3 separate regions of the Homo sapiens genome follow, and all the other regions are linked to region 2. The links are contacts of gene promoters, found by promoter capture Hi-C in blood cells and fetal thymus (Javierre and others, 2016). All regions are on one chromosome and are shown on one strand. The core of a region is centred on a gene start or on the middle of the fragment in contact, and the rest is flanking DNA. Distances in the headings are between cores, read along the strand shown.

Region 1 (2,700 bases), core at 22-2,521, 500 kb after region 2:
AAAACTAAAAAGCTTTCTTAAAAATATATATACAAATTCTCAAGTAAAATATAGTAAACTTGTTACTTTTTCAGGTATTTGATGCCTTTATCTGTAAATTCTTTCAAAGGAAATATGGCATGAACAAATATTGAGACAGGGATGTTTCACCAACTCTCAACTCCCCTTATTCAAGGGTTGGATCATAATAACTACATCTAAGTAATCCAGAAATTATCATTTTACTGAAAACCACGAAGACTATGTAGATGGAGAGAGATGAAAGAAGTACTATTTTTAAATCTGCAGCTTTATATCAATATACATAAATACATACCAGATAACCATATTTTATAAGAATACATATATATTCAAGGGTATATGTCAAATTTTAAAAAGAAAGGGGATTTGGCGTGGTCCTATCATTATGAAAGGGGATTCGGCGTGTTCCTGTCCTTATTTTACTCATCATGTCATCCCCTATCGTCTACCAGGCGTCCAGGCGCTGAGGACCAACCTTCTCTTCCTCCTCTGGCTAAGAAAACAATCAGCTTTCCCAGAGCCACCGCTGTCTGGACGCTAGATGGCGCCGCTGAGCTCCCCCCACCCCCCGCCTTTCCCCCACCCCCCCGCCTCCTCCCCACCACCCCGCCCACACCTGCGGTTCCTGCAGAGGGGTTGCTCAGGTGACCGGGCCGTTTGGACCACTTGGTTCAAATTCAGGATCCAGGTAGATGCAGCTGGGGAAAGCAGGGAGGAATGGGAGGCTACAGACAGAATGACCACATGCGTGCCTTCCTGCAGGGCTTGTCTTCTCCAAAGCCCCTGGTCAGTCACATGTTTTACTTGGCTCCCTTCCTTCTTCCTCGCCTTCTCCAGACCCTCTAAGCATGTGCCTTTGTCTCTTCCCAAACCTCCTGAGTCGCCTGAGGCCCTCTGGTGGTTCAATTCTTTATTGGAAGAACAAGCAACATGTTTACCCCAAGGGTTTCCACGGAGAAATACAAACACGTCTATTATTGGCAAGAAAAGCAGCACTGATTTGTTGAAGAACTAGGGAATTGTTCTAATTCTGCAGATTAGTCTCTTCTTGTCTTTGGTTGAAGTAACACAACCATCTCCATAGAGGTTCCTAAGCATAGAGGAAGATTGTATTGTAACAATACAAGGCTGCCGTAACTATGTAATTGGCCATAATTGAAGACAAGAATGGTGGGAAGTATGGGTTTGCAATTACCTAATATTCCTGTCCTAACCCATTTCAGGAGATCTTGCTGCGAGGTGCATGTTACCCATATAACAGACCCTGGGAGTATACCCAGGAGCAGTGGTGCGGATCACAGAAGGGGCTTTAAGACGCCCCTGGTGTTCTATGGCCATTAGCTACCAGTAGGAGCAGCTGCACCCCTGGCTGACCACAGATGTGGCTGTCAAACACAGTGAGTTAACAAAGGACAGTGAAACAGGGGGACGTGCAAGTCAGAGGAGATGCCTGCTTCCTCCTAGATCCCCACCATTTTCCTGGCTTTCTACTCTATTCCCAAAAAGAAGACACACTGGGGTAGAGGGCTGAGGGGAATAATTCAGTCCACAGATGCAGTTTTCTCTCTTTTTGCTACCATGGTTCTGAATGAAGAGCTAATATTATACTATTCCCACCTGTGATGAGCCCCAGTCCTTTTGATTCTTTTTCTTCTTCATCATCCATCCAAACGTCCCCAAGTGGTAAACAGGCCAGCAAACCTGTTATCCTCTCTTCTGTCCCTTCCACACATGTTTTAGCTTTAGTGGAAGCTCACAGAATAACCCTCAATTATCTGTTGTGGTCTGTGGCATTACCTTCTTAAAGGAAAGCTGATGGGTTCTTTCAACAGGTTTGGGGTCCACTCCCAGCTAACAATTAGTGTGACCTTAGCCGAGCACAGTGTCTCACGCCTGTTATCCCAGCACTTTGGGAGGCCGAGGCGGGTGGATCACGAGGTCGGAGATCAAGACCATCCTGGCTAACATGGTGAAACCCCATCTCCACGAAAAATAGAAAAGAAAATTAGCTGGGCGTGGTGGCGGGCGCCTGTAGTCCCAGCAACTCATGAGGCTGAGGCAGGAGAATGGTGTGAATCAGGGAGGCTGAGCTTGCAGTGAGCCGACATCGCGCCACTGCAGTCCAGCCTGGGTGACAGAGCAAGACTCCATCTCAAAAAAAATTGTGTGACCTTGTTTTCCTTTACCATTGTTTCTAGTTGCCCAGGAATCTAGTGGGAAGATGTGGCTATGGTCTGGGGCAGGATATTTTGGGAAGCCTGGTGTCCAGGGATATTAGGCAAACAAACTTTTGCATTGCACTTAATATTTCAGAAACCCAGCTGAATAGCTCTTATTTTTATGGCACTAAGAAAGTAAATCTTAAATCTTTGCTCTTAACACCATTAAGACAAAATTATTATGAAAATTGGACAAAGTGCCTTATAGCAGCTGATATATTTAAAACATCAATGATTGTACCCTTAGCATTGTTTTATTTTTATTTTTTAAAATTATCTAAACATTGTTTCAAAGCTTGTGAAACTACTAAAAGACAAAGGATTGTAAATGTCAATGAAAGGAAAAGTAAAACAGCAAGTATTTTAGCATACGGGGGCAATCAAGTCATAAAGAAAAAGGGTTAGTAGCTCACTAGACAATAAATTATTATAAAGAAGAGCCAAGAAAAGTATTGCTTTG
Region 2 (2,700 bases), core at 163-2,662:
GCTAGTGATGTGTGGCCTCTTTATAGGGTGTGTATGATTTTGTATTTTACAAATCCTTCTATAGATAATATAACCAAATTAACGGTAAAAACTCAGTAAGGTATGCAGGCAACTAGAAAATTATTAACCCTATTTTATAGACGAATAAGTCAAAGTCCAGAAACAGAAAAGTATCTTTTATAAAAAGTACACATGAAGTTAGTGACAAAATCGAATCTCAGTCCCCAGTTCCTGCTGTGCTACTGAGGCTAAACCGCAGCCGGGCCTGTGGCAAATGTTTAATCAGCTGTTGACTGAAGAAAATAAGGTCCGCCTGCCCAACAGCAACCGTTTGTAGAGTCTCAGAGGCCCAGCTTCTGTCTGTATCTACCTCATGCCCCAGAGGCAGCTTCTAGCAGCTCCGGAGAGCATCCTGCCAGTGGGAGTTGACCCAGCTGCGCCCCCTTTGAGGGAGAAGTGTGAGGAATTTCCTTACAATGGGGTGGGGAGTTGCGAAGATACTCCTTCCTGAAGGTCTGGCAGTCTGGACCGGGGTGGCAACTGGGCGGAGATGATTCCGCTCACGGGAACCCTACCTAGTAACCCGACCTAGTAACGTAACCTCAGAGCCGTTCCTCAGCTAGAAAACAAAGGGATTAGGCCGGGCGCGGGTTTGTAATCCCAGCACTTTGGGAGGCCGAGGCCGCAGGGTCACTTAAGCTCAAGAGTTCGAGACCAGCCTGGGCAACATGGCGAGACCCCCATCTCTACAAAATATTTAAAAAGTTAGCAGGTTGGGAGGTTCGGTTGAGCCACGGGTTCGAGGTTGCACTGAGCCATGATCGCGCCACTGGGGTCTGAGCGAGACCACCTCCCTGAAACAGAAAACGAAGGGGTCGGGTATAATGATTTCTAAGGTCCCTCGTAGTGAACCCTAAAAGTTATCACACCCCACGGTGGGGCTATCGCGGCTTGAGGGCAGCCACAGCCTCAGCCGGGGTTTCTGTCCGGGCCCTGATGGGTCCCCAGCAGGGAGAAACAGCGTCCGGCGCGCTGTGGCGCTCGGCGAACGTGCGCTGAGTTCAGGCGTTACAACGGGGTCGCACGCGGAGTCCAGGCCTGGCAGGGGTGCCAGGACGCCGCCGGCCATCTGGGGCCCGACCTCCCAAGGTCTCCTCCCCGCGGCCGGCGGCTAGCGCGCTCACGGCGCCCGGGCCTTGCGCGCCCGCCGGGGGCGAGGTCAGCCCTCCCCCCTCGGCTATTGGCTCCAGAGAACAAAGGAGCCGCCCCGCGGGCTGCTCCGATAGGGCCGGGCGGGTCATCTGAGCGGCGCAGCCAATGGAGTGGCTGGGCGGCCCCGGGGATGGCCAGGCCCGCCAGCCAATCAGGCACCCGTGCCCGCCCCGCCTGCCCCGGGAATGGCCAGGGCCGGGAGCCCGGTGCCCAAGTCGCCCTCGGGGTGGCAGTTCCCGTTAACCTTAGCCACAAAGTCAAAGGTATTTATTTCCCCGTCGCCTCCCTCCGAGTCCCTCTGCATTTTGGGCGGGGAGGGGCGGTGCGAGGGATGGACCAGCGCCCGGCCCCGCTCCTCCCGTGCTGCCTCCGCCCGGCCCGGGCTGGGGCGGAGGGATGGGGCGGGGGCCTGGGGTGCCCCGAGCCCCGCGCGCCCCCCGAGCCCCGGGTCTCAAGCGTTCCCTCTGCCCCGACACAGCCGAGGGGAAAGGGGCGCGGCCGAGGGTGGGGAGGGCGCCAGGCCAGGGCAGCGAGGTTAGGAGGGAGGCTAGTGAGAATGGAGGGAGGACGCGGTGGCGAGTAGAGGGGTCGCCCGCGGGCGGTCTCTCCTGGGCTGTCCCGTTGTTCCGAGTTCCCCGTCCCTGTTCGCCTCCCTGATAGATCAGTTTCTGGGGGCAGGAACCCCAATGCTCGCTGCAGAGTGACAGACACATAGTAGGTGACCAATAAATGTGTGATTAAACGAGCGGGGATAAGGATTGGGGGTGGAGATAAGTGAGAGGGAAGCACCGCAGAAGTTGGAAGTGTGTGGTGTCGGGTGTGGCGGAGAACTCCTCTCTAGGAAGATGGGCACAGCAGCCGCGAACTCGGTGGGGCGGGGTGCGGGCATCCCCTCTGTGAAGAACGTTGAGGATATCTACATGTGGAAGGTGTGGAGATGGGTCCTCCTTCGGCCCTTTGAGCAAGATGATCTGAGCTGGGGCTGGGTGTGGTCAGAGCCCCAGGGGTTGGAGGCGGACGACAGCCCAAGGCTTCACAGCTAACTGTTCCCATGTTCATCTGTAAAATGAAGAGATTAGATGGCAGTTGTCTCCTTTCAGCTTGAAGGTTCATGCTTCCGTGCTTCAAATCTGTTTTGTACTGAAATTTCTTTTATTTAAGTGTTCCCTTATGACAGTTTTTATTAATGGATTACTGTGTGTGGAGCCTGTACTGGGTGCAGGGGAGAGAGAAGGACCCTGTGTTAAGATGCATGTAGTCTTGTGCAGACTAACAAATTGATGACAATGATGATTCCATGTAGATGGTCCTAGGTGCACAGGTTAAACAGAGAAGGGATTCCTGGCTGTGCCTGGTGTGTCCAAAAAGGCTTCCTGGTCAAAGCGATCCCTAATCTGGGCTGGGAAGGGGAGAACTGAGCAAGGGCCTTCCAAGGTTGGTCACAGGGTGCGAGGACACGGTGAGTTCAAGAGCCACGAGAGGATGGGG
Region 3 (2,700 bases), core at 179-2,678, 390 kb after region 2:
GTAACATGTGCCCATATAAATATAAAGAAAGCTAAACGTCACTTTTACTTGACAGTGCTTCCCACATAATTTAACATATCAAATAAGCCAATTAGTTTAATGTCCCTCTTTTACAAGGTGAGAGAGAAATTCTTTCACATTTTCCAGGAGCCCATCTCAAAAGTCCCAAAGTTAGTTCAAGATCAATAAAAAAGGCTTAATTTAGAAATTAATCTTGGGAAGTTTGTCAGAAACGTCAAAAGGGGCCGAGTATGGTGGCTCACACCTTTAATCTCCACATTTTGGGAGGCCAAGGCAGGAGGATGGCTTGAGCCTGGGAGTTAATACCAGCCTGGGCAACACAGACCTATCTCTACAAAATATTTTTTAAAACATTAGCGGAAGATAGTAGCATGCACCAGTAGTCCCAGCTACTCAGGAGGCTGAAGTAGGAGGATCCATTGAGCCCGGGGGTCAAGGCCGCAGTGAGCTGTGATCATGCCACTGCATCGTAACCTGGGTAACAGAGTGAGACCCTATTTCAAAAAATAAAAACAATAATAAAAACTAGGAGTGGAAAGGATAGGGGTTTAGATGAAACAAGATTGCCCATGTATAACTGTTGATGCCTAATGATAGATACGTTGAGTTCAGTACGCTATTTTTTCTACTTCTATGTATTTAGAATTTTCCACTTAAAAAGTTTTTTTAAATAGATTGACAGAGGTTTATCAAAGTTCATAATATTTCAATTTTTCCAAATATTTTAGATATAATGGGTTAAATGGGATACTTTTCAACCTTTCAGTGAAAGAGTAAGACATACAATTTATAGTCATTTGGTATGTCTTGATAAAGCTTTTTTGGTATACTTCCCAGACATTGAGAAATCAAGTGATTCTAATGACTGGCCATTAAATCCTTCTGCAAGTCAAGCAGTCTCCACTATTTTGTTTTCAACAAAAAGGAAGACAGATATATCCATCAATAGAAATTAAAAATTAATGAGAAACCACTATGCGGTTTTGGCATTTATTTTGGAAGGAGTACAAAGAATTGAGTGGCATTAGCATAACAGAATTGATTATATTTCTATTGATTCGTTTATATGAACAAGGCTTCTCAATTTTTGCACTGAAGTAATTTCATTTAAAAATGTTAATATCTACAATGTGCTAGAAATTACATCCTTTGCAAATATTCATGATGAAAAAATTTTAGAAGTTCAGCTTAAAATCAAGAGAAGACCTAAATTTTTAAAAATCCCTTTAGTGAATACAGAAGTAAAAAAGTTTGAAGACCATTGCCTTAAAGAAAAACTTACATGAATGCATAAGGATATTTTGTAAGAAGACTCATGATAGTAAAAAGCTACAAACAACCCAAATATTCATCAATACTGCATTGGATAAGCAAATTATAGAATATCCACACAGTGGAATGATATTCAGCAGGAAAAATGAACAAAACACAATTACCTACATCAACATGAATAAATATCATATACATAATGTTTAATCAAAGAAGAACCGTTCTTTTCCCAGAAGAATACAGAATCTGATTCCATTTTTGACAAGGTTAGTCGTGGAAAAAAACTAAAAATATATATTGTTTAGAGCAACAGACATAGGTGATACAAAACTATAAAGAAAAGCAAGGAAAGGCTGGGCGCGGTGACTCACGCCTGTAATCCAAACTCTTTGGGAGGCCAGAGCAGAAGGATTCCTGAGGACAGGAGTTCGAGACCAGCCTGGGCAAAACAGTGAGGCCCTATCTCTACAAAAAAAAAAAAAAAATTGGCCAGGTGAGGTGGTGCACAAGGTGATCTTGCTACACAAAAGTCCAAAGTGGGAGGATCGTTTGAGCCCAGGAGGTCAAGGCTGCAGTGAGCTATGATTGCACCACTGCACTCCAGCCTAGGCAATGGAGCAACACCCTATCTCAAAAAAAAGAAAAAGAAAGAAAGTGAATGATTAACACAAAAGAGAGGATAGTAATAATACCCTAGCGACAGGGAGAGGAACTCATGGAGGTGGGATGGGAAGCTTCGAAGGGCAATGCTCTACTCCTTAAACTGGGTATGGCTTTATTGAGCTTTATGCTGTACATATACTCTTATATATATATATTCATGATATACTTAACTATAAATATAGCTCAACCATATTGAAAAACATGAAACAAGACCTGAACAAACAGAAAAACAGACCATGTTCTGGTATGAAAATACTTACCACTATGAAGATATACATTCTTCCAAAATGGATATATACATAATTAAATTCCAATTGAAATCTGTTGTTTTTGTGTGTGGAATTAGATATGCTTTCTTCAGGCTCCCTTGTGCGGAAAAAAAATGCCTGAACATAAGTTAGTCTGGCATCGGCATAAAACACACAAATAAATCAGTAGGACAATATACATAGTACATAATGAATCCTAGTTAATAATGGGAATAAATGTATGAAAAAGCAGAGGAAAATTGGTTATTTAGTTAAGTGGTGAGGAAAAAACAGCTTTCCAATTAGAAGAAAGTAAAGCTGGGCTGCTACCTCACACTACATAAAAATCCAAGAGGCCGGGCACAGTGACTCACACTGTAATCCCAACACTTTGGGAGGCTGAGACAGGTGGATCACGAAGTCAAGAGATCGAGACCATCCTGACCAACATGGTGAAACCCCATCTATACTAAAAACACAAAAATTAGCTGACCGTGGT

The links. The method cuts DNA at HindIII sites, captures the fragments that hold promoters and counts their contacts. A CHiCAGO score of 5 or more calls a contact.
Region 1: a fragment that was not itself captured here is called in contact with the fragment with the promoter of ZNF775 in region 2 in 2 of 17 cell types (non-activated CD4 T cells and total CD4 T cells); the score reaches 6.3 in non-activated CD4 T cells.
Region 3: a fragment that was not itself captured here is called in contact with the fragment with the promoter of ZNF775 in region 2 in 7 of 17 cell types (activated CD4 T cells, non-activated CD4 T cells, naive CD8 T cells and 4 more); the score reaches 12.7 in activated CD4 T cells.

Annotation. Positions count from the first base shown.
Region 1 is chr7:150,876,372-150,879,071 of GRCh38, forward strand. It overlaps LOC105375567 (a long non-coding RNA gene), which reads right to left and starts at 759. Exons shown (of 5, transcript XR_928171.3): 1 at 638-759. The HindIII fragment of the contact is 2,523 bases long and covers 11-2,533 here.
Region 2 is chr7:150,377,918-150,380,617 of GRCh38, forward strand. ZNF775 (zinc finger protein 775) reads left to right here and starts at 1,413. Exons shown (of 3, transcript NM_173680.4): 1 at 1,413-1,475. ZNF775-AS1 (ZNF775 antisense RNA 1) reads right to left here. Exons shown (of 2, transcript NR_183445.1): 2 at 1,928-2,271. RefSeq lists enhancers at 402-561, 2,572-2,631 and a silencer at 972-1,781. The HindIII fragment of the contact is 8,122 bases long and covers 1-2,700 here.
Region 3 is chr7:150,768,094-150,770,793 of GRCh38, forward strand. The region is part of intron 2 of LOC105375566 (a long non-coding RNA gene); the gene reads right to left. Among named protein-coding and RNA genes, the nearest start is that of TMEM176B, 31 kb to the right of the region's middle. The HindIII fragment of the contact is 1,187 bases long and covers 836-2,022 here.